Linked DNA regions of Homo sapiens: regions 2, 3, 4, 5 and 6 are each linked to region 1. Evidence: promoter capture Hi-C in human tissues and cell types (Jung and others, 2019). All regions are on one chromosome and are shown on one strand. The core of a region is centred on a gene start or on the middle of the fragment in contact, and the rest is flanking DNA. Distances in the headings are between cores, read along the strand shown. Region 1 holds the start of PLCB1 (phospholipase C beta 1). Region 2 overlaps PLCB1 (phospholipase C beta 1). Region 3 overlaps PLCB1 (phospholipase C beta 1). Region 4 overlaps PLCB1 (phospholipase C beta 1). Region 5 overlaps TMX4 (thioredoxin related transmembrane protein 4). Region 6 overlaps PLCB1 (phospholipase C beta 1).

Evidence for each region. Contacts are between HindIII fragments. The study calls those that stand out against the background at their distance.
Region 2: a fragment that was not itself captured here is called in contact with the fragment with the promoter of PLCB1 in region 1 in 4 of the 25 tissues and cell types used here (dorsolateral prefrontal cortex, liver, lymphoblastoid cells and 1 more).
Region 3: a contact is called between a fragment that was not itself captured here and the fragment with the promoter of PLCB1 in region 1, in 10 of the 25 tissues and cell types used here (bladder, dorsolateral prefrontal cortex, heart right ventricle and 7 more).
Region 4: a contact is called between a fragment that was not itself captured here and the fragment with the promoter of PLCB1 in region 1, in 4 of the 25 tissues and cell types used here (bladder, heart left ventricle, hippocampus and 1 more).
Region 5: a contact is called between a fragment that was not itself captured here and the fragment with the promoter of PLCB1 in region 1, in 1 of the 25 tissues and cell types used here (mesenchymal stem cells).
Region 6: a fragment that was not itself captured here is called in contact with the fragment with the promoter of PLCB1 in region 1 in 4 of the 25 tissues and cell types used here (IMR-90 fibroblasts, bladder, mesendoderm cells and 1 more).

Annotation. Positions count from the first base shown.
Region 1 is chr20:8,130,705-8,134,220 of GRCh38, forward strand. It overlaps PLCB1 (phospholipase C beta 1), which reads left to right and starts at 1,562. Exons shown (of 32, transcript NM_015192.4): 1 at 1,562-2,046. The coding sequence starts at 1,948. RefSeq lists a silencer at 1,648-1,787. The HindIII fragment of the contact is 4,653 bases long and covers 1-3,516 here.
Region 2 is chr20:8,352,553-8,356,068 of GRCh38, forward strand. The region is part of intron 2 of PLCB1 (phospholipase C beta 1); the gene reads left to right. Among named protein-coding and RNA genes, the nearest start is that of PLCB1-IT1, 110 kb to the left of the region's middle. The HindIII fragment of the contact is 6,417 bases long and covers 1-3,516 here.
Region 3 is chr20:8,323,642-8,327,157 of GRCh38, forward strand. The region is part of intron 2 of PLCB1 (phospholipase C beta 1); the gene reads left to right. Among named protein-coding and RNA genes, the nearest start is that of PLCB1-IT1, 77 kb to the left of the region's middle. The HindIII fragment of the contact is 5,117 bases long and covers 1-3,516 here.
Region 4 is chr20:8,284,918-8,288,433 of GRCh38, forward strand. All of the region lies in intron 2 of PLCB1 (phospholipase C beta 1), which reads left to right. Among named protein-coding and RNA genes, the nearest start is that of PLCB1-IT1, 38 kb to the left of the region's middle. The HindIII fragment of the contact is 5,881 bases long and covers 1-3,516 here.
Region 5 is chr20:7,989,743-7,993,258 of GRCh38, forward strand. All of the region lies in intron 5 of TMX4 (thioredoxin related transmembrane protein 4), which reads right to left. Among named protein-coding and RNA genes, the nearest start is that of TMX4, 28 kb to the right of the region's middle. The HindIII fragment of the contact is 6,623 bases long and covers 1-3,516 here.
Region 6 is chr20:8,262,215-8,265,730 of GRCh38, forward strand. The region is part of intron 2 of PLCB1 (phospholipase C beta 1); the gene reads left to right. Among named protein-coding and RNA genes, the nearest start is that of PLCB1-IT1, 15 kb to the left of the region's middle. The HindIII fragment of the contact is 5,647 bases long and covers 1-3,516 here.

The DNA.
Region 1 (3,516 bases), core at 312-2,811:
TATAATTTATTTAAAACAAACTGCACTCAATTTAGGCGTACTTACAGAACTTACAAGTTTTGATAAACACACACACGATATAGAACATTTCCGACATGCTCATCAGGTGCTCGTAGCCCTTCCCTGTCCATCTCTACCTATCCCTGGCCACAGGCAAGCTTTCTGTCAACATAGAATATCTTGCCTATTCTGCAATTCCTACACATGGAATCAGGCAGCATACAGTCTATCGTGTCCGGCTTCTTTTACAAAGCTTAAAGTCGCGATTCATCCCTGATCTTGCATGCCCACTCATTTTTATTGTGGAATAGTATTCCAATATTTGGGCATACCACAGTTTGTTTATCCATTCACCTGTTGATTGACATTTGCAGGCTACTAAGAAGAAAGTTCTTCACATCACTTTACAAGTCCCTGCAGACTTGAACGTTTTCATTTCTTTTGGACAAATACTTAGGAGTGGAATTTCTAGGTTGTATGATAAGTAAATATCTTACTTTATAAGAAACTATTCTCCAAAGTGGTTTTACTATTTTATATTCCCTCCAGCAATGAACAAGAGTTCCAAGCTATTTCTCTCTCCGCCCCCCCACCTCCCGCGTGTGTCTCTCTCTCTCTCTCTTTCTCTCTCTCACACTCACTCACTCTCTCTCTCCCTCTCCTCTCTCTCCTTAATAAAAAAAAAAAAAGAGTTCCAGTTGCTCCACATCCTTTCAAGCATTTGGTATTACCAGTCTTTAAAATTTTATCCATTCTGGTCCTCCTCTTTCCCTTCTTCCCTCCCTCCCTCCCTTTCTTTCTTGAATTGAGAAATGTTTGTGGAAGGAGTGAAGACAAACATTCCTGGACCTATGTTCCTAAATGAGCAAGTTTCTATTAATAAGACTCTCCCCCACCCGCCACACATCCTACACACTCAAGGAGAGGAGCGGGAGAGGGCACCCTCTTTCTTCCTCGGAAAATAAAACCTTTGCTTTCTTTAGGATGGGCTTTCTGTCTCGAAAGCACAACGTAACCGTTTGCCCGGGTTTCAAGATCAGCGCGCTGCAAACTCTCAGGCGCGGCCAGGTTTCCTCAAAGAGCCTCTCAACTGCGCTCTTCTCTGCTGATAAATGATAATTCTCTTCAAAAAGCTGGTTTGTGGCTGGCGCTGGAGAGCTCCAGCTAGAGCCAAAAGCCAGGGGTTGCCTCTTTGGTTCCTCCCGATGGGCCCCTTTTCCCAGCCAGTTGGGATCCAAAGACGCTCCGGAGCTCGAGCCCAAATTCCCAAGAAAACCCCAAAGAGCGTAAGGCTCCTGGGGACCCCTAGCACCTCTGCAACCAGGGCACGGGGCATGCTCAGAGCGAATGCGGGAGGCAGGCGTTGGCTGCAATGGGGCTCGGGAGCCAGGAGGTGCCGCTGCGTCCCCGCTTCCTGGCGCCTGACCCAGCGTGCAAAGTTGGGCTGGGAGCCGCGGGGGGAAGGAAGGACCCAGCGAGCGAGGGTGGCGGGGAAGGGGGGCGGGGGGGAGGAGGAGGGAGGAGGGAAAAGAGCGGTTAGGGGGGGCGCCGGGCGTGTGTCACTCGCTCTCTCCCTCTGTGTATAGAGGATGTGCTGAATGGTGCGCTTTGAGGCGGCGGCGGCGGAGGAGCAGAATCCGCCGCGACTGGCAGCCTCGGCTGACCGGCTCGGCTTCTCTTCGCCTTCCGAGGCTCCTCATCCACCGCGGGCTCCAGACCTCGCGTCCCGCCCGGGGCATGGCCGGGCGCTGCGCCCCCGCGCGCTCTGCCTGCTGAGCGGCGCCGGAGGGAGGTGCGGAGGCCGGGAGGCCGGGGAGGCCGGCGGGGAGCAGAGTCGAGCGCCTCCGGAGCAGAGAAAGGAGCCCGCGCCCCGCGCCCCGCGCCCCGCGCACGGTCCCCAGTCCCTGCCGCGCTCGCCCGGGCCGCCCGGAGCCCAGATGAGCCCAGATGGCCGGGGCTCAACCCGGAGTGCACGCCTTGCAACTCAAGCCCGTGTGCGTGTCCGACAGCCTCAAGAAGGGCACCAAATTCGTCAAGTGGGATGATGTAAGTATTGGGGCGGCCCGAGTCGGGGCGCTGGCTCGGGCACCGGGCAGGGCGGGCGTCGTGGGGGTGGGGCAAGGGGCGCGTTATGCAATGGGCGCACTGGGAGCGGGCAGGGGCAGCCTCGGGCGCACAGGTTGGCATCTGCCAAAGCGGATGTCCAAGGGCAGAAGCTTTGCGCGCGCTCCTGTTTCATCGGGCTTCAGTAGTTGCCATCCTTTCTGGGTCTGGCAGGCGCCCCCTGAGGGTCTTACATCTTTTGGGCCAGTGGAGAGGGAGGGGCAAGCTTTGCCTGGTGACAGGTCCTGAGAGTTCGGAAAGTAGGGAGTGTGAAGTTGGGACCAACTGGAAAGCGCCTGGTGTGAACAAATCGCGTCCCTCTCCGCCTGCGGACGCACCCCCTATTACCTCTTTTGCCCGATTTCAAGAAGGAAGGACCTGAAGTTCAAAACACTTTAGTGATTGCGAACCCTCTTGGCGCTTTTGTGGGAGCCAAGGCGGCGGAGGACACAACGGTCCAGCCAACAGGTGGTCGTTGATGCCAAACTTCAGCGCCTGGCTCCGGAGTGAGGGTCCCTGAAAAGGGCTGCGGGGACACATCTGGGGAGGGCGTGAACAGAATGGGGGCCCTTGAGGGGTCCTGGAGGGCTCATGGGCCTGCAGGCAAGTGGGGAGGGCTGACTTTTGAGAACTGAGCTGATTGGAGTCTTCTGCCTGAAATAGACAGGTTGAGAGTTTGCCCCACGATTTACCTGCACCGTTTGCCAGGTAGGGCAGAGCCTAGCCCAGCGCCGGGGTCTCTAATGCTTTACGAGCGGCCCAGACCCCAGGACTTCAAATGACTTCCCCTTCCCCTCTACCCCAGTTGTCTTCAAAACACGTAAATTAGTTATCCAGCTGAAAACATGCGAATCTTCGGATGGAGAACATTATGGTATCAGTTTTATGTCCTGGGTGTCATTCTAAAGGTTCGATAAGAAAAACCTACTGAAATAAACCCGAGTTGCCAGGCTCTAAGCAAATTTAAGTCCAAATGACTAATACATCTCTTAATCAGAAGGAATTATAGGAGAATGAGGCGTTCTTCTTGCCGAAAAGATTTTCCACCTAGTAAATTATAGCCTGTTATCCTCTAGGGTATTTTTCTTTAATCTTCTTAAGCCATTTTCCAGTGTCTGAAAACAATTTAAATATTCCAGGTAGTGAATCCAATTACTTAGCTGAGTGCGTCTGTGTCTATATTTTGTCCAGCTGGAAGCGCAAACGGAACTTGGAGTATGAACCACAGCTTCCTTGAAAGCTCGTGCCAATTATTAAATGCTGTAGGCAAGGATGTAAACATACATCTTTTTACCATGGGCTTCACACTTTTCTTCTTTCTGTTCCAGTCTAATTGTACTGAATGTTTCTGTAAATGGAATAGAATCTAAACAATAAATTCAGACGCAGATTAAATGCTTTGTGTCAGGGAAA
Region 2 (3,516 bases), core at 674-3,173, 220 kb after region 1:
ACATCAAGAGAATCCCAGGATGGAAAGCAGATTGTGACAAATAATATCTATATTATAAATATAGACAACAACCTTACTGAAGGCAATAAGGGAGGAAGTTGCTAACTGAAGTAACTGGAAATGAATGGAATCTGTGAAACTGAAAGCAAAAAGAATGGTTGTTAACAACTGTTAACAGTTCTGAGACCAGTATTCTTATATACTGGAATTGAATAATTAGTTGGATGGCTGACGGTGGAAGCAAGGTTTCTCACTGTTGGAGCAGGTAGTTATAGAGCAAAGGAAAGGTGCTAGAATGATCCATGTAGACATAGGCTAGAATTGTGACATCAGTGTGAACTCATTTTTAGCTTAATATACATGCAGATGGATGAATATAGAAAGTTCTGTGTGTATATACATGGGTTTGTATACATACCTGTATTTCCAAACTGGGTTCTTGAAGAGGACCTACAAACAATAACACTTTGGTATCAATGAGCATAACCAGCCCCCTGAACTTGGTTTCTAGTGCCGTTCTTCAATAAAAGGAACTAGGGCTCTTGGAGAAATGGCTGATTCTAGAGCTGGGGAAGGGAATTTACAAGATTAGGCTGGAGCATCTAACAATGCCAGGAAGCAAGAAAGTTTCTCAAAGGAACATATGGAACCAACTAAAAGACTTCTCAATGGTCAAAGCTGGAACAATTTAAGCAACAAAATAAAGATGTGATATTAGATTGCAACTCAAAGTATAAAATAAGTATCCATAGGCCACATTATTATAAATCAGTCATTGAATGAATAAATAATTGGGAAGAATACACAATTCTCCCATATAGGATACCAAATAATTTATGTAGGAGCATAACTGCCTTCTCTTAAGTGTGGGATTCACATAGCAACTTCCTGCAAAAAAAGCACAATATGGAAAGAGGGGATAAAGAGTAATTGTGATGCAGAAACTGACAAACACTGCCTCAGTCAGCTGACCAAGGATAATCTCATCAGTATTAAGTCATGTTGATAGTAGGTACCTTTGACATGATGTGATGAAAATGGCATTTTACCTCTGTGGTCTCTCTCCCGAAACCCACAACTTCAGCCTAATCATGAGAAAAACATCCTGTACCCATATTAAGGGATATTCTAGAAAATACCTGACTAGTACTCCTCAAAACTGTTAAGGTCATCAAAAGCAAGGAATGCCAAAGAGACACCCTAAGATGACAGGTGGACTAAATGCAGTATGGTGTCGTGAATGGGCTCTTGGCACAGGAAAAGGACAGTAGGTCAAAACTAAGGAATATCAATGAAGTATGGGCCTTAGTTAATATTAAAGTATCAATATTGGTATATTAGTTGTATCAAATGTATCATACTAATGTAAGATATTAACCATAGGGAGAACTGCCTGTGACATACATGGAAATTCTCTGTACAAATTTTCTGTAAATCTAAAATTATTCTAGAATAGAAGGCTATTTAAAAAAAAAAAAAAGACCAAAGCTAAACATATAATCGTGGTGGCCTGGGGCTGGAAGTGAAGGTTAGAGAATGGAGAGTTATTGCTTAACATGTACAGAATTTCTATTTGAGAAGATGTAAAAGGTTCCTGAGATTTATGGTGGTGATGGTTACACAACAATGTGAATGTACCTAATGCCACTGAGTTGTATACTTAAAAATGATTAAAATTGTAATTTGTATCGTGTATTTTATCAAAGTAAAACAAGTATTTCAAGAAAAAAACTCAAAGACACAGAAAACTAGAGAAGAGAAACATCAGAAGGACTAAAAACAAAATCTAAAAGTGGACCAACAACAAAGCAATGGGATAGGAAGGAAAACTGCGTAAGATTCACAGGGCAAAACACTTCCATTACTAGAACACCAGGAAAGAAAACACCTGTTTAGAAATCACAGCAAATAAATTAGTACTCACGGTTTTCTCTTTACTTCGTAATTTTTAAATTGTACACACCCTCTTCCAAAAACCTTACAACACAAGGCAAGAAATACAAAACAAACTTTTTGTTTATTAGTAAATTAAATACTGTATTGAATGTGGAAAAACAGAACAAAAAGTGGAGGCTCTGATACACTTTGGCCCCGAATACTGGCCCTCTGAGCGGAGGAGAGTTGGGGAAATCAGATGTTATATTAATGGACTGGCATTTAGAAGCCAGGCATTGAACTCTGTTTATTTTATATATTATTTTAACCCTCACAACAGCATTATATGCTAGTACTATTATTTCTCACTACAGAGCTAACATTTGAGATCATGGTTTTCTGTCAATGACTTGAATTTAGTAACAGTGAAAATTCCATACACATAGGAATATAGCAGAATTTTTTCAGTAAGGCTGTAACGTTTAAGTGAACTTAGCTGATCCTACATATATTAGAGAACGCTTGCTATAAATTCATGGGATTCTGTCTACCAAGTCAGAGAAGTGGTTTAAATGTGTTGATGTATCTGGCGTATTAGAGTCTACAGTCATGAAATGGAACCCTAGTTGTACAACTCATTAGCTATGTGCTGTCAAATTACTTAACATGTAGAGATCTCAGTTTTACCATCTATTAAATGGGGATAAAACAGGTTCTTTGCTTATAACATTCTTTTTCCTTTTCTAATATCCCATGTGCTTGTGACTTTCTATGATCAGAGATAGTGGTATTTGTCTTAAAAAAAAAAAGAAAGAAAGAAAAGGTCATTTAAGCCCCATATTATTTGGAGATCATAGGTACAATAAAAAATAAATGCCAGAGTTTCAATAGCTTAACACATTAAAAAGTATTCCTCATTTACTTAGAAGCCTAGTGTGGGTGTTTTTGATATAAGGTGATTTTCTTCTACCTGGTGATTTAGGGACTTAGACTCTGTCCAATCTAACAGCTCCAGTATCTCCTAGGGTCTCTCTGTCCTCTTTAAAAAGGACACAGGAGAAAGAAAAAGACCTGAAATGACCCTCGTCTCTTCCATTAACCTTCCATTTGTGAGAACTATTCATATGACCCTCCTTAAATGCAAGCAAAGGGTGATGTGAAATGTGGCTGTATTCAGGCAGCAATTTCCCTGTAATTCTTTGAACTGTGTAAGGCAAAGTGCAAAGTTTGGTGGCGAATGAGCAACCTTTGCCTTAAGCTCTGTGCGAGCCCAGTATTGCTGAACTGTGCTAACCCACTCACCTGTATGGAGAGAAGAGTAGCACCATTATAGTAAGGACTCCTGCAGTAATCACCAAGTATAATGGGGGCACTTAACCCTCAGCTTTTTTGCACCTTAAATGGTTTAATAATAATTGCAACAAAAAGTATTTATAAAGCATTCGGGAATGCTTATAAGGGATTAAAGTAATATTAAAGAAATCACTAGAGTCTCAGCATTAAATGATTTTTAATGCAACAAAATCTCATCATACTGTATTTTTTCTTCTTAGCTTTAAAAATAGACCTGCAGAATAGATATGGTATAAAGTGAGACTCCATAGTGTCCAGAATTCTTTTCTTTGTATTTGTACTGAAATT
Region 3 (3,516 bases), core at 625-3,124, 190 kb after region 1:
CCCTTCACAATCTAGGCTTCTCTAGGTTAGAAGCAAGTCACTAAAGCAGCCTATATTCAAGGAAGGGGCATCGATTTTACCTCTTGATGGAAGAATTGTCAAGGAATTTGCAGACTTTTTTTAACCATTACATTTAATGATTACCTTTCATCATCATAGGGCCTTATTGGTATTTGCAAGCCTAGTTCACTTAACCTAATACCATGCTTAGTCATTGCCAAAAAAAAAAAAAATCTGGCTAATTTAATGTATCAACAATTATAATATAGTGATGCTTTTACTAATTTTTATGCTCTATTCAACTATCCTTTAAAATATACTTATCTAGAGGGAAGAGTTAAGTGAGAAAACTGAAGATTTAGAAGTATGATGTTGATTTCTAAATCAAGAAAAACATATGTACTATTGCTTTTTCACTGAATTAAACTGATTTTTACAGAGTGACTGCTATAATCATAACACTGGGCTAGACTACTGTGATTAATACAGGTAAGTAAAGACGGTTTTAAAATTATGAACAGAACTTAGTCCTAGTTCACAGTCTCTAAACTGGTAGGGGTGTGTGTGTGTGTGTGTGTGTGTGTGTGTGTGTGTGTGTGAAACTACGTGACAAGGATTATTTACACACCATTATAGAAGTCACACTAATTAAATCTAATGAAAGACATGTATTCAGTTTTGATATTTTCCGTAAGAGTCAGGCAAAAGTTCCCAACAAACTTCTAAATCTATAATCAATCCAAAGGAAATTATAAACAATAGGCTTTGTATAGAGAGAGTAGGTGGATCATATTAGGCAATAATCACATAGTTGATTTCTTACTATAAATTATGATTTATGTATCATAAATAGCATACAAATGTTTGTTAAATGAATGAGATCTTACAAACTATTACTGGGAAAATCTTTAATTGGCAGCTCTTCTCTGATACGGGGACTCCAAGGGTCCTTGGAACCTGGGGACTGGGGACTTCCTGATTATTTTCAAGTAGAAGTGTTTGATTTATAGTTGAAAGAGAATAAGACCATTAATGTTCTCTCATTTTTTTTAAATAAAAGTGTAAGCTCTGCCAAGGGGCATTTTCTCATTGGCTTTCAGTGTTATTTTGGTCTCATGAATTCATAAACATCAGCATCTCTACCTATTTCCAAAGAAAAAAAATTTACTTATGCTCAAATCCTTGTCACAGCCACTGCTTCTAGGGAAACATAAACTAAGGCAGGGTGATTGCAGTTCTGGGTATTTGAAAGAGGTTCTTATGGATTTTTCCATGTGGGAATAACGTCTAAGTAATTTTCCAAGAATGAAAATACTAAAGTTTTTGATAATTAAAGATACTGACACAGTACAGACACAAACAGGTTTTTCGGGTGCTTTTCTTGTGAAGCTTTGCATTTAAACTGAAGTTTTATTCATGTAATAATCATGCCCCTACTATTCGCAGGAGTAGGAATAATGGGAGTTAACAGGTGAGGCAGAAAAGAAAGGACATTTCAGAGATGCTCTGCAATAAAGAAGTGACTGAAAACTATAGCACTGGTTTTTCTTGGTTGGATGAATTAATGCACATTCTGAAAAACAGTGTTTTAGATTTCAAGTTCCAGGTCTTCCAGAAGGAGCTATCATCTGAGCTAAGATTGATGCATTCTAGACCATTATTCTGGACTCTTCTCTGATAAGCCCATGAGATAATTTTGTTGAGGTGTGATCATCCCAGCGTTTTAGTTATGTTTCACTGGAAAATTTAAAATATTTTAATAAGCAACATTTGTTTGGGAGAGATACACTGTCCCTGAACTTGGCCTACTATGATGGGAATCCTCTGTTCTGTTCAAAGGCAGTTTTCTCAGGCACCTATGGAGTCAGAGACTGATGTGACACTTAAGTGGTACTTACTATGTTCCAGGTACTGAGCTGAGAAATTTATCATGTATTAATTCATTTAATCCTCACAGCCAGCCATTTAATCATTTCATCTATTTTAAAGACAAGGGTCAGGAAGGTTAAGTGACACGTGTAAGGCCACACACATATGATTTGCTGGAACTTGGATTCAAACCTGTCTGTCCTTAGAGTCCATGCTTTTGTGAGACTCCACCTCTGGCTGTTCCTGAGGAGTTCCTAGTTAAGCGGGAATGGGGGTGGGCAAGCCAGTGATGACAGGGTTAGGTGGATACTGGAATATTCAGGAAGTGCCAGAAAGTACAGAGGATGAAAGGCTTGACTTCACCTTGGATATTTAAAAGCTCCAGAGGACAACACCTTCATTTGAATTGGAAAGGACATAGCCCATTGGAAAACTTGTTGTTTCCAGGGAACAAAACATTTTAGACTATTTTGAAAATCTGTATGAAGCTACAAGTACTTGTATTTGGTTTTATAATCTAGGTAACAGTAATTAAAAGTTGATTCTTTTAAAAGAGATTTACCCTTCGAGGTTGTTTAAGTAAATATTTTGCTCTCTGTTAAGTGTTCCTACTTGGAAGTGTAAATATCTGCAAATGTGTTTATGTGAGTCCTCTAACTTCAGAAAGAGTCCTAACCTATTTTCTTCAAGCTCTTCATACTAAATATTAATTCTCTGGGAAATTATATAGTGATATATTGACCTCTACAGAATAGATTCTTCATATAAATTAAACTATGTGGTTTAATTTTCTGTTGTTACTCATTTCTTTAGCTTGTGAGTGTTCACCCATGTCCTGAGTGTAAGATTGTGGGGCTGGAAGGTTTGCATTCCAGCCCAGCGCTTACAGCACAGCACAAGCTGAAGGCCAAAGAATAGGCGATTTTCAGTTGTTTTTAAGCTTTCTAGGAATGATAGGTTATGATTTCCCTTGGCCTGTGATTTACCTAGTTTCATAAAAAGTATATTTTCCTTTTTTATGACTGACAAAATTGTTCCTAGTGTAAGTTACCTGCTTTTTCCGAAAAGTTTGTTGGTGACTTAGTTTAACTATTAACCCATGAAGTCTCTGAAGCAACAAATGCCTATTATTAATCATGTATTTTGTCTGGGAAACCCCCAATGTCTTTTACTTTTTTAAAAGAAATATGTATAAGTCAATGCCAGATTGCATCCTCACTTTAATTTTACTTCTATGACCCTCCAGAATTTTCTCAAAAGTAGACCTGCTTATTGGGTCTGAAACACCACACTGAAACAGATGCTGATACTTGCTAGAATGTTGACAGGGCTGCTTTCACAGCGTCCAAATAAAACTGACTTAAACTAGATGGAGGTTTTTTGTTTTTTGTTTGAGACAGGGTCTTGCTCTGTCGCTCAGGCTGGAGTGCTGTGGCACAATCATGATTCACTGTAGCCCCAACTTCCTGGGCTCAAGCAATTATCCCACCTCAGCCTCCTGAGTAGCTGGGACTACAGGCGTGCGCCACCATGCTTGGCTAAGTTTTGTATTTTTTGGAGAGACTGAGTTTCGCCATTTTGCCCAGACTGGCCTTGAACTTTTGAGCTCAAGTTATCCACCCACCTTGGACTCTGAAAGTGATGGGA
Region 4 (3,516 bases), core at 359-2,858, 150 kb after region 1:
GAGAATTTAAAGGGTTTGTTCCTGTACCAGTGGTTTGCTTTTTCTGATCTGACATTTATGTGCTCGTTTTCTAATAAAGATTTTAATATTGTTATGGTATTTTTATTTCTCAGTGTTATGTTAGCCTACCCTGTTCTTGTTTTGTTTCTGCATGTGTCTAGCTCCTGTTTTATCTCATTCTCTGGCATTTTTGTCTCATTGTTTATAGAGTTATTGTTTCAAGGAATTTTATTGATCCTATAAACCAGATGCTTCACTTGTGTTTGCTCTAGTAAATATTTTCCCAAATGTATGCTCCTTCTCTTCGTTTTGCTTTTATATATATATATTTCTATACATATAAATATAAAATATTTCTAAATATATATATTTATATCTATATACATATACATCACAGTATCTTCAGGGCTCAATCTTTTGAAATGTTTTTATTCCTTTTCATATTTATTCAGAATTGAACATAGAGACTATGAAGTAGGCCAGATATTTGACCATAAACATGAAATAATGGTGGCTAGATTCTAGTATATTTTCACATCCAATTTTTAATTTTTATTTTTTAAGAACCCTATCTCATCTCTTAACCTGGAAGACTGGATATTACAGTCATAGGTTCATGTGGCTGGTTCATTGATCCAGACACTTGAAGGACATGGCCATTTTCTGTGTTTAACTTTCTGTTTGGACTGGTCTCTGTATCAGGTACATAGTGTGACCATGGATACATGACCCTCCTTGAGCAGCTACCCACGGCATTATTGAAATGAAGCTCCAGGTCAGGAAGATGAGCCATAGTTTACTTGGGTAGCTGCTTCATAAGATAGAGCAACCTACTCCTATGGCCTTCACACCTGTACCCACCAGTGCGGGGTTTGTAGGATACTGTGAGCATTGTCATGTAATCATGCTGTGTTTATTTCTCAAGTGAGAGGCTTCCAAGATAGTTCCTGGTGTTTCCCTTCAAACAATTTCTCTTCTCACTAATATTTAGCTAAATATTTATGTTTCTCAAATATTGATGGTATTTTTTCAGGGCTGGATACATTAGTCCTTTCATATAGTAGTCCATTGGTCATTTTATAAGGAATCCAAGAAGCATAGCATAAGAGAAAAGGATAAATTTTCATCCTGGCACAGTGGCTCATGCCTGTGATCCCAGCACTTTGGGAGGCCAAGGCAGGCAGATCACCTGAGGTCAGGAGTTCGAGACCAGCCTGGCCAGCATGGCTAAACCCCGTCTCTACAAAAATACAAAGATTTGCCGGGCGTGGTAGCATATGCCTGTAGTCCCAGCTACTCAGGAGGCTGAGGTAGGAGAATCGCTTGAACCCTGAAGGCAGAGGTTGCAGTGAGCCAAGATGGTGCCACTGCACTCCAGTCTGGGTGACAGAGTGTAACTCCATATCAAAAGAAAAAGAAAAGGTACATTTTCTCAGCACCAAGTTTACGTGAATGCCATTAACTTAGCCTGTTTACTGCCCTGATTCCTGATTTCTCATATTATGTAATGATATTTCCATGTTATTCAATATACTGACAAAAATTATTTTATATTACTATTTCATCATAGAAGCAATATATACATACTCCCAGAAGTATTTGAACCAGAAGATAATGGACTGTTGGCCAGTAGAGCAGATCTGGGCACGGGACCCACAGCATCCAGTACATTAATCCTTTACAGTTCCTTCCATGTGAATTGTCTGAGTGTGCTCTTTGTCCATTCCTCCTTTTGTTAATTAATTTTTAACAATTCAACAGTTATTGTCTACTATATGTTAGAGCTCTTGAATCTTTCTAAGCGCTGTCCTTCAATGAAACACAGGGATTTATTTGCCAGTTCCTTATATTAAAGAGAGGATCTCCTTATAGTAGCTGCTATATAATAGTCTCTTGTCTGCTTTATTTTTAATATAATACTTTCTCAGTTTCCTGTTCTCCTTGTAAGTAAGTATCATGGTTTTGGCCTGGACAGGGTGAAAATTCTCATACTGTAGAAATTATCAGTGGACTTTTGTCTATACTTCTTCCATTTGCTTTGTATATAGTAAGACCAGCCAAGGATATAAATTCTCATATCCAAATTTTTCATCTAATATTTTAATATTTAACTTTTTAATCCAACAGGATTTTATGTTGAATTTTTTGTGATAAGAGAGATTTAAAGGAATGTACTTTCCTCAGAAAACAAGACAAATTCTACAGTGGTGTCTATTAAATATTTCCTACCTATTCATGTGTGACTCTTTACTCTATATCCCAAAACAATCTCACCTCAGTATAAGTAAACTTAGTCCATATTTATGTTTATGTATAAATATATTTAATATTTAATAGTGTGTTATATATGATGTTGTAGTAGCCTGTGATATAATATATACATGTACATTGATTTTTTATATATTTAGCACAGTGTTTCTGGGATCACGAATATTTAATAATATAAAATTTGTGATTAGAATAAAGAAGAGGATAAGATGTCACCAGCTTATTGATGGTAACTGCCACCCCCAATACCTCATCTTGTCCCCAGGAGGCTTGCTAAGGCATGTGGAGGAGGAATGGAGAGCCAGATGGTGCCTGTGGCTCCATGTAGATGATTCCTACAGGGCTGGAAAGCAATTACTCAGTACCAGTCCCCTGGGAGGCTGCCGACAAGGCAGGCATGTTCCCCGCATTCATCTTTACAAGGTGTAATAATTAAGCCAGCAGAATCATAGCATTGCCTGATGGATGTACAAAGAATCAGCATGGACCCTCTTGGCTTGTTCATTACCTCAACGTCACCTACACAAACTAGTAATTACTCACGGAATTTATGGCATTTACATGTGACAATGATCTTTGCTGCATTAACGCCTCCTAAAGCTAAGGTCCATGGGGCCAGTTAAAAACCTATTTATTACCAATGAAGCTTAAGCATTGAGGATTTGGGTAGATTTTACTGACATTACACTTAGAGAAAGATTTTAGATGTCTTCATCAAGAAGAAGACAAAGATGTGTGTTGGACGCAGCCATTTTGAATATATTTGGCAGCAGCTTATTAAATGCCCTAGAGTTAGCCTGTTTAACTCTGCTTTAAACAAGCACTTGACATGTGCTAAACCAAAGAACTTCTCTATCTGAGGTGTAACTGTCTATTATATTTCTTCCACTGACTTAGGCTAGTTGCAGAGGACCCTCCAATCGGTACATTGGAAATTCTTGGCTGAACTTGAAGGCTGTGTTTTAGGTCTGCCCTTCTCTATCTTGCGTTTCTATCCAGATGCCAATATGAACTAAAATAGAGCTTCTTGTTAGTCAGCTTCTTGTCCTTGAGGGGCCTGGAGGCTACAAAAAAATGAGAAGTAGCCATTCATCTTGATATCTGGAACTCTTGCCCTGGGAGGCTGTCAAAGAAAGAAAATTCTGGAAAGAAGAGGAGAAGTTACTATTTTTTGTCAGACGGTCTAGAAGCAGAGCTTGAGATGGAGATTCTGATGCAAGTGATTTTTGGAGGGAATGCTCTCTGGAG
Region 5 (3,516 bases), core at 295-2,794, 140 kb before region 1:
TGTCCTTGAAGTTTTGCTTTATATATGTTTCCAAAGGAATAGCTTATTAAATAAAATCCAATTCAGTTTTAGATCATTGTGTTTCTGTTTCTTTAACTACCAGGCAAAGTGACAGTTTTCACTTGTGGAAAATACTGATCCTTATTCAATATTATATGTGCTTACCACAAGGAAATATCCCATGCTGTTCGCTGAAAATGCACAAAAATGTAAACTGATGGGCATGATACCTTATACTATGGTACTAGATGAATAAGAAAGTATCTTACTCGGGCTGGGCGCGGTGGCTCACACCTGTAATCCCAGCACTTTGGAAGGCCGAGGCGGGTGAATCACGAGGTCAGGAGTTCGAGACCAGCCTGGCCAATATGGTGAAACCCTGTCTCTAACAAAAATACAAAAATTAGTGGGGCTTGGTGGCAGGCGCCTGTAGTCCCAGCTATTTGGGAGACTGGGGCAGGAGAATTGCTTGAACACGGTAGGCGGAGGTTGCAGTGAGCTGAGATCGCCCCACTGCACTCCAGCCTGGGTGACACAGTGAGACTCTGCCTCAAAAAAAAAAAAAATCTTAGTCTGTTCACTGAAAATGCACTAAAATGTCATCTGATGGGTGTGACACCTTATACTATCATAGTACATGATTAAGTTAGAGCTAACTTTTGGCTACATACATATTTGAGTGAGAAGATGAAATTAAAACATCATTACAACAGAATAAATGAGAAGAGCATTCTAATCAGTGGTCAGACAGACTTAAGGAAGACAGCCAAGCCAAGGCCTCCATGCATCTGAGGTAGAGCCTTCCCTCCCCAGAAAGGCAAGCACTCCCTCTGGAAGTCTAAACTACTGCAGGTTGGATTAAATACTACTTAGTCACACCCACTCATCCAGCCCAGTGTTGCAGAGTCTCATTCAAACCTAGACTGGCCCTGAAGGACAGAGAGCCTTTGGATTTAGAGTTCACCTGTGTCATAGGATATACTCTCTGAGGAGTTCTGGAACAAGCCCTTTATCTCTTTCAGACACAGATCAGAATCCCCAAAATATCTTCCCTGCAAGGAAACAGCTAGAAAAGACTCTTCAATGATGGCCAAGGGTTCACCTCTTTCATGCTTTAGCTCTTAGCACTTGTAACAAAACATAACCTTGCAGCCTCTTGTAGGATCTATGAAAGGTACCTTACAGATGTGCACCACTGTCTCACTATAACATTCTACAAAACATTCTAAACATTTTTATACGAAAAAAACATTGAGAAGAGGCATGCTATGTAAATCACAGAAGAATGTTTTCAAGTTTTAAAATACACTTTGTTCTTCTCTAGTCTAAATGTTCATGGCTTTTAATTCTCATCATCAGATATTTTAAATAAAGCCTTAAGTTTTCTGTCACGTCATTCTAATAAAAAGGGAAGGTAGCATCCATCACACAGATTGTCCTCCCAAGGATGTAGCACATCTTATTTTAGCTAAAATCTGCCATATGCCTACATCCTCTCAAAACGACAGTAACATTTAGGAAAGGGAAGTTACATCCTATATTATCAGTGAGCAGCAGAGATTCAACAAATCCAATAAAAAATGCTTTAAATACATTTAAATGCTAAACTTAGTTCGCAAAAGCATATACAGGTTGAGTATCCCTTATTCCAAATGCTTGGGACCAGACAGCCTTCAGATTTCTGATTTTTTCAGATTTTTGCATTACACTTACCAGGTGAACATCACAAATCCAAAAATCGGAAATTCAAAATGCTCCAGTGAGCACTTCCTTTAAGTGTCACGTTGGTGCTCAAACAGTTTCAGATTATGGAGCATTTTGGATTTTGGATTTTTGGATTTGGGGATGCTCAACCTATATGCTGAGCAACTGCCACGGAACCCTATTTTAAGCCTGCTATCAGCATTGGCTAAAAAAATTAACAAAAGTTAAAGTATTCCACGTTGGCTATAAAGAGAAGGAAAAAGTAAAATAATGAAGACAATAATGATTAATACATATAACTAACAAAAAGCAATTATCAAGCACATTAACTAGGTACCAGATTCTGCACTAGGCACTCAAAGGGTTCTAGGAACAAGTCTATGGCTGGAAAAAAAAAAAATAGGATTCAGGGGCCTACACATAAGGTGTGAAACAATGATGTGTTTCTGGAAGAGAAGGATAGTGCCACTCTGTAGCACTGTAGCCAACTGTGAAAAGAGGGAAGACAGAAGACTGGACAGTCTCTCTCCACACATGTGCCACACACAAAACCCAAGAACTTCTAATCCTAACTATGCCACCAGACTTGGCAGTGATGCTTCCTGAAGTTCAATCTTCTGCACATTGCTTTTATGATATTCACCTCACCTTGTACTATCCATTAGAGTATTAACATTTTTCATTTAGTCACTAAGTTGCATACAATTTTAAAGAAATTGGATATTGCTACTATAATATAAAATCAAAATCAATTTTGTCCTTTGAAGATGTCAACTCTCTGAGAAACTCCTCTAACTGTCCCATCTCCTAGGCCTCAGTGACTCCATCTGTGAGATGGGTAAAATGTTGAGACTATTTGTGAGGATAGATATTAACAGCTAATGAGGTAATTACTTCTGTGAGTTTATATAAAAATTAAAATATGCAGGTGAGCGCCATCATGAGTGAATTGGAAAGAAAATTTAAATTTAGTGATGGAAAGAACACTGGAGATCATCTACTCTTGTCCATATTGTGGTATGAATGACATATCGAGGATCCCTGGGATTCAGGGTAACAGCAGGAAGCTGACAGGAACTGCCTCATAAGACTATTCAAGGGACTTTCTCACCTCAACAGTTTACTCAAGCAAGAACATAGGGGAGGTTGGTATGAAGTTAAGAAGGCCAAATGCAAACCAAACCAACTCCTGAGTTGATAGGAATTCGGCCATGTGAGTGTCTCATCACCAGGTGATCCTAGAATCTTGAGGACCAGCTTTTATCTCCAGAATGTGCAACCTAGCAAGTTGGCTTCACTTCTAAGGCAGAAAGAAACCCAAGCCCCTTAAGGAATCACTAATTCAGTAGGCGCTGATCTTCTAGATATATCTCTGATCTTCTAGATATCTTCTAGATAATTACTAGCTCAATAGGCTCTGATCTAAATATATTGTTTTCATTTTTTCATTACAGAAGAAAATAGAAGTTATAGAAAAAACGTTTTTAAAAATCACCCATATCAGAGAAAACTACTGTTGATCTCTAAGCATTTTCCTATATACACACAAAAACGCCATATAAACATCCATTATACTGTTTTGTCATCTTCCCTGCAGATATACTTACATCTAACCAGCTACCCATCCAGGGAAGACTGTTGCTGAGGAAAGACTGATTTCTATCTGTACATGTATCCAGATATTTCAGTAAGATAAAGAGACTATGGATAGGCATAAACAATCTTGTCTCACTGGCATTAGCCATTCTACGTCTTTCCTTCTTCCATCTTTATAATCTTCTTTCTCTGAGACTTTACACTTTTTTGGTTCCA
Region 6 (3,516 bases), core at 339-2,838, 130 kb after region 1:
GGGACAACAGGCACATGCCACCACGCCAGGCTACTTTTTTTTTTTATTGTATTTTCAGTAGAGACGGGGTTTCACCATGTTGGTCAGGCTGGTCTCGAACTCCTGACCTCAGGTGATCCACCTGCCTTGGCCTCCCAAAGTGCTAGGATTACAGGTGTAAGCCATTGCACCCGGCCTTTCTTCCCTTCTTAACACAAGGAAATACCCAAATATTAGAGGGATGCAGCAGTGGGGAATGTATAATCCATGGTGTCTTTGTTTCGTGAGAACCCCAATGAAGAAAGAGAAACAGGGAGACATAGTTTAGAGCATGCCGCTCAGCAGAATTTAGAATTGCCTTCAGTCACTGGAAGAGTCTAGGTGTACCTGGCTATTTGAAATATATGAATACCCAGCTTCATTATCTGAATGTTTTATGCTCCCCAAAATTTGAGCTCTCTTTTCGTACAGGCTGCTATAACAAAATATCATAGACGGAGTGGCTTAAACAACAGACAGTTATTTCTCACCATTCCAGAGGCTGGGAAGTCTAAGATGAAAGTGCCAACAGATTTGGTTCCTGGTGAGGACCTGCTTTCTGACTTGCAGCTGCCTTCTTGCTGTGTGTTCAACTGACCTTCCTTTTGTTTGTGTATGAGGGAGAAAGAGAATGAGAGAGAGAGAGAAAGATTCGTCTTCCTCTTTTTACAAGGGCTCTAACTCCATCATGAGGGTCCCCCTCTGATGACCTAATCTAAACCTAATTACCTCACAAAGGCCCCACCTCTAAATATAATCACATTGGGGATTAAGGGCTTCAACAAATGAATTTGGGGGAACACATAAACATTCCTAATGCAGGACAGGCAACATTTCAGCTCTGCCACTGACTGCCCAAATAATCCTGGACAACTTACTTAACCTCTCTAAGCCTCAGTTTTGTCATCTGTTAGATGGGAATGAATGAGTTAATATCTATAGTACCAAAAAAAAATTGTGTCTGGCACAGAGTAAGTGTTCAGTAACTGGTAACTGTTGATTATTAGCCTGGGTTAAACTCTGGAGTAGTTAAGAAATGAGGCAATTTCTCATTACTAGAAGAAAAATCAAAATGACTGTATTAAAAAGGAGATGCTGAGCATATCATCAATAAAAGTTTTAATTGGTTCAATATTATTTCAGATTGTGACATTAAACATCACTTTCAAATGCTGAGGTTATTTCCTCAAATATGACATCAGTTGACTCAATCCCATTAGGAGAAATTTGAACGCCTTCACTATGTAACATAAAAATTGCTAATTCTTTCCTTATTATATATTATAATCATGTGTCACTTAATGCTGGGGATTCATTCTGATATTGTGTGAACATCAGGGACTGAACTTATGCAAACCTAGATGGTAGAGACTACTACATACCTAAAATATATGGCATAGCTTATTGCTCCTAGGTACAAACTTGTACAGCATATTACTGTGCTGAATACTGTAAGCAATTGTAACATAATGGTAAGTATTCATGTATCTAAATGTATGTAAACATAGAAAAGGTACATTGAAAATACGATATAAAAGATAAAAGAACAATGGACCTGTATAAAACACTTACCATGAATGGAGCTCCTAGGCCTGGAAGTTGCTCTGGGTGAGTTGTTGAGTGACTGGTGAGTGAATGTGAAGGCCTAGGACATTAATGTACACTACTAGAGAATTTATAAACACTGTATACTTAGGCTAAAATAAATTTATTTTAATAAACTTTTCCCCTCAATAATAAATTATCCACCTTAGCTACTTTAACTTTTTTACTTTATAAACTTTTAAATTATTTAAACTTTTGACTCTTGTAAGAACACTCAGCTTGAAACACAAACACATTGTACAACTGTACAAAAATATTTTATTTCTTTACAGACTTATTCTATAAGTTTCTTCAATTTTTAAATATTTAGTTTTTACTTTTTAAACTTGTTTGTTAAAAACTAAGATGCAAACACACACATTAACCTACTCAGACAGAGTCAGCATCATCAATATCACTATCTTCCACTTCCACATCTTGTCCCACTGGAAGGTCTGCAGGGGCGATAATATGCATGGAACTGTCACCTCATATGATAGCAATGCCTTCTTCTGAAATTGCCACTGAAGGACCCACCTGAGACTGTTTTACAGTTAATTTTTTTCTTTAATTATTAGGAAGAGTATACTCTAAAATAATAATGAAATGTATAGTATAGTATAGTAAACACATAAACCAGTAACATAGTTGTTTATTATCATTATCAAGTATTATGTACTATACATAATTTTATGTACTAGAGTTTTATACAACTAGCAGCAATATAGTTTTGCTTGTACCAGCAATACCATAAACGCATGAGTGATGTGTTGCTCTGCAACGTTATGGCAGCCATGACATCACTAGGTTATAGGAATTTTTTCAGCTCTGTTATAATCTTATGGGACCACTATCATATAGGCAGTCTCTCATGGACTGAAATGTCATTATGGGGCACATGACTGTGTGTGTGTATGTAGGTACACACACATATGTTCATCTCTTATGCCTGATTTTGATTCTTTATTAATGTGGTGTAAGTCAATATTTATTGGCAGCAAAGGATATTTTCACCTTAGCAAATGACAGATATGAAGTTTCATTCTAAAGAATTTTGGTGCTTTCCTCCTACTGCCCTGGGGAAATGTAGCAATCCATGTAATCTGCCAACATGTATGGTTGGAGATGCATTTTAGGGGGTCAGGGAGATAATTAATGAGGAAACCTTGAGAGTCCTATCCCTATTTCTAGCTCTTACCTCAAAAGGAAATTACTCGTAAGTCCAGGAAATGGCTACGCTGAAAATACTTGTCATTTGTCTGACACTGTACAGAATTCTATGTTTAAGATCATCAGTTTTAGTGGCAGGTATTCTTGGACTTAATCCTACCTCTACCAATTACACCAGTCATTAGCTGCATAATTTTGAACAATCTCAATCTTCTCCTCCATAAAATGGGAACAGCAGTGTCTATTCCTTAGAGCAGTTGTGAGGATTAAATGAGTGAATGCATATAAAAAAACACTTGGTCCTGAATCTGACACATGAAAGCACTGGGATAGTTGTTACCATTTGAATTGTCTAATTCAGGGCCTTTTCATTCCACAAGCGAATGGCGAAGTACCATTTAAGACTTGCCAATGGGTGGGGGAGGCATTTACTATCCAAATAATTATATCACTGATCATGTCTAACTGAACACATTTTTGGCTAGAAGGGAACTTGGATAAAATATAAAAACAGAGCTTTCACAGGCATTTTTGTTATTTCATTTATGCTTTGAAAAAAATATTTTGGGGCACCTACTATTATGGGTAGCTAACTGCATCTCAAATTTATATCTTAATGTGTTCTTGTCCTTTAATTTTTATTCTGCAACATATGAACTTCAGTAATTTCTAATTTCCAGAATGGTGGAACATAAATACATGTCTCCAGTTCCTATCAACTTTGCTAAGTCATAATAATATTAT